Linked DNA regions of Homo sapiens: region 2 is linked to region 1. The links are contacts of gene promoters, found by promoter capture Hi-C in blood cells and fetal thymus (Javierre and others, 2016). All regions are on one chromosome and are shown on one strand. Each heading gives the region's core, a stretch centred on a gene start or on the middle of the fragment in contact. The rest is flanking DNA. Distances are from core to core; before and after follow the strand shown. Region 1 holds the start of GINS3 (GINS complex subunit 3). Region 2 overlaps KATNB1 (katanin regulatory subunit B1).

The links. Contacts are between HindIII fragments. The CHiCAGO score rates a contact against its expected background, and 5 or more counts as called.
Region 2: a contact is called between a fragment that was not itself captured here and the fragment with the promoter of GINS3 in region 1, in 8 of 17 cell types (activated CD4 T cells, total CD4 T cells, naive CD8 T cells and 5 more). The highest score is 11.7, in activated CD4 T cells.

The regions. Positions count from the first base shown.
Region 1 is chr16:58,391,028-58,395,977 of GRCh38, reverse strand. GINS3 (GINS complex subunit 3) reads right to left here and starts at 3,507. Exons shown (of 3, transcript NM_022770.4): 1 at 3,191-3,507. The coding sequence starts at 3,376. RefSeq lists enhancers at 40-685, 2,714-3,290, 3,195-3,684, 3,291-3,868. The HindIII fragment of the contact is 2,062 bases long and covers 2,678-4,739 here.
Region 2 is chr16:57,736,575-57,741,266 of GRCh38, reverse strand. It overlaps KATNB1 (katanin regulatory subunit B1), which reads right to left. Exons shown (of 20, transcript NM_005886.3): 2 at 3,984-4,289. The coding sequence starts at 4,023. LOC107984852 (a long non-coding RNA gene) reads left to right here and starts at 4,623. Exons shown (of 2, transcript XR_001752221.3): 1 at 4,623-4,692. RefSeq lists an enhancer at 4,302-4,371. The HindIII fragment of the contact is 6,249 bases long and covers 1-4,666 here.

The DNA.
Region 1 (4,950 bases), core at 2,258-4,757:
GGAGGTGGGGGGGCCAGCCCCCCGCCCAGCCAGCCGCCCCGTCCGGGAGGTGAGGGGCACCTCTGCCCGGCCGCCCCTACTGGGAAGTGAGGAGCCCCTCTGCCCGGCCACCACCCCGTCTGGGAGGTGTACTCAACAGCTCATTGAGAACGGGCCAGGATGACAATGGCGGCTTTGTGGAATAGAAAGGGGGGAAAGGTGGGGAAAAGATTGAGAAATCGGATGGTTGCTGTGTCTGTGTAGAAACAAGTAGACGTGGGAGACTTTTCATTTTGTTCTGTACTAAGAAAAATTCTTCTGCCTTGGGATCCTGTTGATCTGTGACCTTACCCCCAACCCTGTGCTCTCTGAAACATATGCTGTGTCCACTCAGGGGTTGAATGGATTAAGGGTGGTGCAAGATGTGCTTTGTTAAACAGATGCTTGAAGGCAGCATGCTCGTTAAGAGTCATCACCACTCCCTAATCTCAAGTACCCAGGGACACAAACACTGCGGAAGGCCGCAGGGTCCTCTGCCTAGGAAAACCAGAGACCTTTGTTCACTTGTTTATCTGCTTGACCTTCCCTCCACTATTGTCCTGTGACCCTGCCAAATCCCCCTTTGCGAGAAACACCCAAGAATGATCAATTAAAAAAAAAATATATATATATATATACAAATATTACAGAAGAATTTCAAATGTACAAATAGAAAAAAAAAAAAAAGAAAATTTAGACAAAAAAAAAATACAAAAATTAGCTGGACATGGTGGCATGTACCTGCAATACCAGCCACATAGGTGGCTGAGGTGGGAGGATCTCTGGAGCCTGGGAGGTCAAGGCTGCAGTGAGCCATATCACACCACTGCACTCCAGCCTGGGCAACAGAGCAAAACCCTGTCTCAAAAAAAAAAAAAAAAAATTAGATAAAATGGTCAAAGTTTTAGTTAAAAACCAAATATACCAAAACTAACACAAGAAGAAATCAAGTCTGAATAATCCTATAAATGAAATTAAATGTCATACAAACCTTCCTACACAAATCTCCCATGCAGAAGGATTCTAAAGATTTAATGTAGACACTCTGCACTCAAAGAAGTGGAACATAACTCCCTACTCCTTCAGTGTGACAGTGATAATGACTTCCATCCAAAGAGTACAGTATGAAAAGGTGGAGAAACCTAATGAACATTACCTCTGCCAAGGTTCAAATGAACAGTACAAAGTCCTGTTGATAGTAGGCACCCTTAATATGTGATGAAAATGGCACTTTACCTCTGTGGTCTTCCTCCCTAAAGCTGATAATCAAGTCTAATGCTGAGAAAAAAAGAATAAAAAACAAAAACAAAGAAGGCTGGGCGAGGTGGCTTACGCCTGTAATCCCAGTACTTTGGGAGGCTGAGTTGGGTGGATCACTTGAAGTCAGGAGTTCCAGACCAGCCTGGCCAACCTGGTGAAACCTCATCTCTACTAAAAATACAAAAATTGGCTGGGTGTGGTGGTGGGCGCCTGTAATCTCAGCTACTTGGGAGGCTGAGGCAGAATTGCTTGAACCCAGGAGGTGGAGGAGGCTGCAGTGAGCTGAGATTATGCCACTGCACTCTGGCCTAGATGACAGGGTAACTCCGTGTCAAAAAAACAAACAAAAAAACAAAACCAAAAACAAAACTACCCCCAAACCAAAGATTTCCAACTGAGGAACATTTTACAAAATACCTGACCACCACTCCACAAAACCGTCGAGGTCATTAGAACAAGGAGGTCTGATTAATTGTCACAACCAAGAGAAGGCTAAGGAAACATGTCTACTAAATGCAGTGTGGTATCCTAGGTGGAATCCTAGAATAGAAAAAGGGCATTAACTAAAAACTAAGGAAATATGAATTAAGTATGGGCAGCATAGCGCCATGTTTACCAGTGTGTATGGGAACGAAATCCTCATCTGCTAGGATGAAGTCAACAGATAATGTCTACATTAAAAAAAACAACCCAACAAGGTAAGTTTAAGAATATTATTTAGAAATATGAAGATGAATCTTGAAGACACCACTAAAAAAGGTACATGAGCCCTGTGGACTTGGAGGGGGAAGTGGGAAAAGGAAGGCAGGACCTGCTATTTTTTTTCTTATAAATCTTTTGGTACTATTTGACTTTTTTTTTTTTTTTTTTTGAGATGGAGTCTCACTCTGTCGCCAGGCTGGAGTGCAGTGGCACAGTCTCGGCTCACTGCAACCTCTGCCTCCTGGGTTCAAGAAATTCTCCTGCCTCAGCCTCCAGAGTAGCTGAGATTACAGGCGCCGGCCACCACACCCAGCTTTCTAGTAGAGATGGGGTTTCACCATGTTGGCCAGGATGGTCTGGATCTCTTGACCTCGTGATCCGCCCGCCTCAGCCTCCCAAAGTGCTGGGATTACAGGCGTGAGCCACCGCATCCGGCCTATTTGACTTTTAAAACGTTGGTTATGTATTACTTTGATAAAAATTAACTTGAAACAAACAGACCAAACAATAAACATCGTTCTATACAAAACTTAGGTGAAACAGGATATCCAAATTAATCATTACAAGCCATGTTCCTGGGACAATTTTATATTTGAAGCCATATGGCCTTGGGTTCCGAATCCCAGCTCACCACTAACTGAAGCCCTGGCCAAGTGACCCAGCCTTTCTGGTTGCTGAAGGATTAAAGGGAAAAGCTTACTCCCCACACCCAACCATGCTGCCACTAAGTAAGCCTCAGTAGGGCTTACTGATCCTGTCATCATTATGGAGGAATGAATTTAGCAACTTGGGGTTCCTACTTATCACATGCTCTTACAGAACCCAAAGCTGTTTTAAGGCAAACATGATCAGAACTCTAATTCTTAAGTATTCAGCTGGAGCCAATCTTTAAGCATTCAACACACGTTGCATGGGGTAGGGGGAAGACACTAATTTGGACAGTTTCAAAAAAGAAATCAATGTTGGAGGCTGCCTGGCGACCTAGGATAAATGTAGTTTCACCACAGATGGCGAACAAGAAGTCTGGAGACCACCCCGAGCGCGAAGGGACCCCCGCGGAGTTTCCGAGAAGTCGTTAGCGCCTTCGGCCCTGGCTCCTCGAAAACTACAAATCCCAAAGGGCAGCGCGCCCCGATGCGGCGTCCCAGGGCCGAGGGGCCCGCCGGGAGCTGCAGTCTTTCCGGGCAGGACCCCGCACCCAAAGGCTCACCTGTGGGACCGCGTTGTCAGTCTCGGCGCCTGCGCTCCGCTCCAGGAAGAAAGCGCCAAGGCGAGGCATGGCGGTCTCCGTGCGCACCGGCAGCTTCTCGTGGGACATCAGGATGTCGTCCAAAGAAAGAAAGTTCTCCTCAGGCCCCAGCGCACCCGACTCCACTCGGAAATAAGCCTCTGACATGGCGGCCACTTGAGCTTCTCCGCTTCCACTCGCGTGATTCGGAGGAGCCTCAGGAGTTAGGGGTGTACAAGACGGGGAAGCGGAGACTGGGCAGGATGGTTGGGGTCAGGAAAGTGGATTGAAACTCGTTTCCCGCGCCCGGGGACGCATCAGACAGGAGCAGTCAATTCGGGCGGTACCGCCCAGGCAGAAGCAATCGATCAAGTCTGCAGATTTAGAGCAGCGGGACACGGCTGGGGAGCGGTAGGTGGGGGCGCCGGAAGTTCTCTTCCCTCCGCTTGCTGCACGGTGTGGGAACGTTACGAAGAAGCTGGAACGCTCGTTGAAGCTCCTGGACCCATTTGTACTGGATTGTGTTCATGTGATCCTTAACTATTTATATGAAATTAAAAACACTTTGCAACACTTTTAGGGGTTTAAAATAAAAGCATCTTGTGCCCTTCACTCCAGGCCTAAGTCCGACCCTTTCCTACAGTTTTTTTCACTATGCAACTCCGTTAATCTTAGTATTTGAAAGAAATGTTAAACAAACAAAAACTTCCAGCACTATCCCCAGCGAGTTATTATGGTCTAGATGATGAACTAGTGTGTTGTATTTTGTTAGTATTTTGGTGGGGGTTGGACGGGGTGGGTAGAGGGGTGGAGCACTAGACTGCACATGGCTTGCTAAGGTTGTGAGTATACTTCAGGGTGTCTTAGCTCATCATCAACTGACAATCTCCTTTTGTGGCTCTGAATTTAAATCCCTAAAAATGGAAATCCAATTGGTCCAGTTTATTGATTGGTCCAGGTACGCCACAATGGTCATAGATCTCCAGCCACCCTGTAGATGGGGGTGCCTGTGTTGGGTGCGATCACTATCCAGTGACCAGGGGAAGGACCATGGTCGCATAGTACCAGGTTTGGTGGCTCTCCTCAGCCAGGGCTATGGGTGGCGGCATATTGTTGAGAGATGCACTACAGAACTTACTTCGTCTAGAGCATTTCTGGGGCTACTGGAGCCGGGAGTAAAGGGTGTGTGTGAAGGGAGGTGTGTATTAACCATGGATTTTAGTTTCTGTTTTCTGTATTTTATGATGCTTTGACATCTTGGGGCCTTGGGGACCTGGGGAGGAATTGCCCCTTTCAGAGTTAGCTAATTCCTAGAGATAGCAAACAACTTGCTTGTGAACACCCCTTTCATTTACAAACCAACCAACCCAAGCCTATATCCCCACACCATCTTTATCCATCTCACACACCAATATTTTCCCTGCCCCAAGTCACTGTAATAAACCACCCCATGGCCAAGTACCAGACAACTAAAATTCACCTCTATATCCCAGAGCTTGCCAACATTATTCAAATTATTCAATCCTAAGCTTGTTCAGACTTCCCTTCCCTGCTTCGCCCATTCCTTCCCACGGCAATAAAGGCTCTGGGCTTTCTCCTCGCTCTCTCTACCTCCTCATTGACCCTAATACTTTCTCGTGTGGCCGTAGGCACAGCCCCTTCTCTTGAGAACTATAATAAAATTTTCAAAGGCATTGGCCACTAACTCATTGATTGTCATCACCCAGTCACCTTTATAAATG
Region 2 (4,692 bases), core at 293-2,792, 650 kb after region 1:
TAAAAAAAATTGACCCATGCACTGCCTACACACCTCTCAGCTGCTGCTTGTGTGTACATACAAACCCTGCTTTGGAGAACACACTTTAAGAACAACCGAAGTCACCTCTAGACAAGCTGCCCCCAGGTAAGCCTGCACAGGGCTTCGGCTCAGATTCACAATCACGGATCAGGTTCTGGTCTGAGGTCTGTGATCTGCTATTGCGTGGCCTTGGCTACTAGGTCACTTGTCCTCTGAGGGCCTGGCTCCTCGTCTGGAAAGTGGGGATGCCCGTGGTGTCTGCTCACACCTGATGCTGAGGACTCCCTCAGAGCGCGCCTACGTGCTGCTTAGTAGCAGGCGAGGGCTCCGTGACATTGGGCAGGCTCGGGGCTAGTCACCATGAGAGAGTGGGCATGGGGGCCTGGGCGGGCACCAGAGGGTGGGCTTCATGAGGAGGGGGCAGGAGGCAACAGACTGAGCAGCTGGGGTGGGGGTGAGGGCTGACCACACAGAGGAGGAGCCTGTGCAGACAGCCCAAGGCCCTGGCCTGGTCCGTGGAGATGGCAGACAGGAGCCTCGGAGGACTCCGCAGGGAGCAAAGCACAGGCAGGGAACCAAGAGGCGGCCCGGGCCTCAGAACCCATCCCTGCATGAGCTCCTCCTGGAAAGAAGGGAGAAAAAAGACAGTTCTCCCCACACAGGCCAGGGGAAAACCCCAAGGTGCTGACGCCCCGAGGCACCCGGAAGGCCAGCGTGGGTGACGCCAAGGAAAAGGGTGTTGGAGCCACGGCGCTCCACAGAGGCCCCTCCTGCACCCCAGCTCCGACTCCACCCTGCCTGGGTGTCTCTGCTGCGGGCTTCAGACCACAAGGAGGTTGGGAAACTGGGCCCAGGGAAGCTGCTTGCCAGAAACCTGGGCTCCAAGGGGCCACCAGGAATACCCAGGGGACAAGTCGCAGGCTGAATCTCACTGATGACACCCTGCCTCCTGGGCCGGTCGGGGCAGAGCCAGCACAGGCAGCAGCGCCAGCAAGGGCGAGGGTTCCCTGTGGGCCCAAACCTGGGCCAGGGCGCTGGGAGTTCGCCATGGGGATCCCAGGGAGCTGGGCCCCACTTTAGTCCCGTCTCGATGAGAGCCTTCTGTCCTCTGGACACTGTCGGGACAGAAACCTGAGGAATTCCAGCCACAGACGTGTCTGTTCAAGGTTTCCACCTGACCCAGAAAGAGGGCAAAGCACCTTCTCCCTGGCATTCCGTGCCCGAGCCTGGTGTCCTCTCCGTGGAGGCACTGCTCGCTCCCCCTGGCCTACCTGGAGGGCTCTGTCTGTCCCCTGGCCCTCACTCCTCCCAGGGAAAGTGTCTGGCTGGGCCCCACCTCACTGGGCCTCAGGACTGCTGCCCCTGGAGTCAGGGGCATTCATTCATAATATCAGTATTTCCTGGGTGCCTGTTCTAGGCCTTGCACGAAATATGCCCCAGTATAATCAGATGGTGGTGGGGGCGGGACACTGAGCTGGCAAAACCGCAGACTTTGGAGTGAGAAAGATTTAGAAGTTGGGCCCTTCTGGAGGAGCCCACATCACTCCCCTCTAAGCAGCCTGACCAGGGACTGACTGGAGCCCACAGAGGGAGGGCAGAGGGGCAGGGACACAGCACAGGCACCTGCAAAGGAGGCACGGGGCACCACCCCAAGAGCTCCTCCTTCATCCTGGCTTGTTGGACAGCAACCAACAGCCCAGGCCGAATACTTGATTTTCATACCAAAAATAAAAAATAAAAATCCTCAGTGTCTACTGGCAGGCCAAGCTCTGGGAGTACAACCTGGGCCCCACATCCAGCCAAAGCTGGGGAACATGGTGCGGCGTGGCCAGAGGGGCTGAGGATCAGCATCCCAAATGCAAGATACAAAGTACTAGGTTTCAACGACCTCATGTGGGCCACGCACCTCTGATCCTCACCAGACCCTGGAGCCACAAGGAGCCAGAGGTCACGTGGCCCTGGGCTCTTCAGAGTTGATTCCCACGGACACCACCGTGCACATGAAATCAGCAGCAGCAGCAGATGCCCAATACGCCTGATCTCATTACCTCCTGCTCGCACACACTGATGGCTTGGCCTTGCCTTTATGATAAAGCACGGCAGCCTCAGGAGGGCTGGGGTCCTGAGAACTCAGTAGGTCCGTGCGGCCCCACATTCCTCCTGCTGCTGTGCCACTGCCCATGGCCTCCCTTGAGTCCTTCCAATACACTGAGCCTCCTGCCTCAGGGCCTTTGCACTTGCTGTTCATGCAGCCTGCAGCATTCCCACCCCACCCCTACCCCTACCCCCCAGCTAACTGATTCAAAGCACAGGCACCAGCTTGCAACTAGAGGAGACACAGAGGGATACGGTTATCCAGTTCCTGCCTGTTGCTCTCCCCAGGCTCTGAGCTCCCGCTGTACAGAGACCTTGACTACTTTGTCCCCCAGTGGCTCCCCAGTGCCTAGCTCTGGGGAAAGGCCAGCTGTCGAAGGGATGAATACGTAATCCCAATAATTACAAAGCCACTCTGACCAAAGTGTGCCTTCCTTGGGGAACCATAACAGGGTTCTCCCAGAGCCCTAGAGTTTTGGGGAACAACATGAAAATGGCCCAAACCTCTCACTTTACAAACAAGGAAACAGAGGCCCTGCAAAGAGCTTTGCCCAGAGTCTTATGGTTAAATTCATGGTTAAAAAGTGTGGAGTCTTGGCCAGGCATGGTGGCTCATGCCTGTCATCCCAGCACTTTGGGAGGCTGAGGCACGTGGATCACCTGAGGTCAGGGGTTCGAGACGAGTCTGGCCAACATGGTGAAACCCCGTCTCTACTAAAAATACAAAAATTAGCCGGGTGTGGTGGCGGGTGCCTGTGATCCCAGCTACTCGGGAGGCTGAGGCACGAGAATCGCATGAACCCGGGAAGCAGAGGTTGCAGTGAGCTGAGATTGCACCACTGTACTCCAGCCTGGGTGACAGTGAGACTCTGTCTCAAAAAAAAAAAAAAGTGTGGAGTCTTGTCCCAGCTCCTGAAAACCAGCCCAGGGACAGCTGGCAGCAGACAGTGACCAGGTGGAGCACACAAAAGCTATGCCAACCAGTTACAATAGGTGGGGCAGGGCCCACCAAGGTGCCAATGTGTAGGGGAATTCTCAAAATATGATCTGGGGATGCTTGGGATCCTCAAGATCCTTTCGGGGGGTCTGAGAAGACAAAAGGATTTTCACAATAACACTAAGATGGCATCTGCCTTTTGCACTCTCATTTGCTCTCAAGCATATGGTGGAGTTTCCCAGAACATCACTAGAGGCCTATTTGATTATATACTCTTGTTTGAAAATGTCTCAGTATTAACTTCTAACGTGGTAAATACTGACAGATATATAACTCCAACAAACAAAAGCACTCTGGGGTCCTCAATAATTCTTAAAGTATGAAGTCTTCAGATGAAAGAGTCCAGATCCACTTGTATAGGGCAATGGTGGGAGTGGACAGTGCCCATCAGTTACAATCCGAGCCCTGTCTGCATCCCTCTGCCCGCCCCTCCTCGCTCCCACTCCTTCCCCCATCCCAGGCCCAAGATGCTTTTATCTGACTGGGGAAGTTTGACTTGTGAGATGTCTGAGAATGCTGTGAACATCTTTCAGGATTTCTCACCCCACTGTCAGCCTAACTGGAAATGCTGTGCTAAGTGCTTTAGGATGGGTTCATCCTGTCACTTGAATTTCACAGCAACCATAGAATGCAGGCGTCATCTCATTGTACATATAAGAAAACTGAGCCTCAGAGAGGTTAAGTCACCTGCCCAGTGTCACCCAGCTAAGAAGTGCCACAGTCATGATTTACATAATGGTCTATCTTACTCCCAAGTCTAGGAGTCTCCTCCTGTGCCAAGAACAGGAAACAAAGCTGTGGGTTCAGGCCTCCCAGCAACAAGCCGCTAACAGAATAAATGGGGTGATAAAGAAAAATGAAAACCACTCACGCAACTTCCAGGCTGTCTTGGTGACCACAGGGGTGGCCATCCTTCAGCTGGCTGGCACCTGAAGCCCCACCCACAAAATAAACTGTGCTTTCCTCGTGGGGTGGGGGTGGATCCCCCCCCAGATCCACCAATCAAGTTGGCAGAGAGTTCCCACACATCCAGGCAGACAGAATGCCTCGTCTTCTGGCCCTGGGGTGCCTCGTGGTTCCAAATTACCCACAGCAGCAACAGCAGCAGCCTGTGCACATCTGTCACGATCCTGGATCATGGAATGTTAGGCTCGAGCCATCTCAGCTCAATACAGGGCTGCAATACAAACAAGAGGTGACGTCATGTTAGAAAATGCTTGGTAAGAGCTGTTGCTCCCTGGATCACCAAGACCACTTGATAAAGACTGACACCCACCAAAGCCACCAGAGTCAGAAGCTGCACTGCAAATTAGGTTTGGGAATCTGCAGAGGGGGCACCTCAGGTAGGGTGATTTGGAACGTAAGGAAAAAGAAACTCCTCCCAGAGGCCAGGATAATGAGCTGCAGCTCTGTTCCGGGATGCTGGCTGCCTAAAGTGCAGCAGCCGCAGTGGGGCGGAGAAGACCACGTGTCTGCAATTCACATAGATTTCCTGCGAGTCGTTGTTTTTGTCTGACGTGTGGGATGTGGGAGAGCGGAGTCAGAAGCTAAGCTTAGGGGCCTAGGAAAGGCATCCCAGA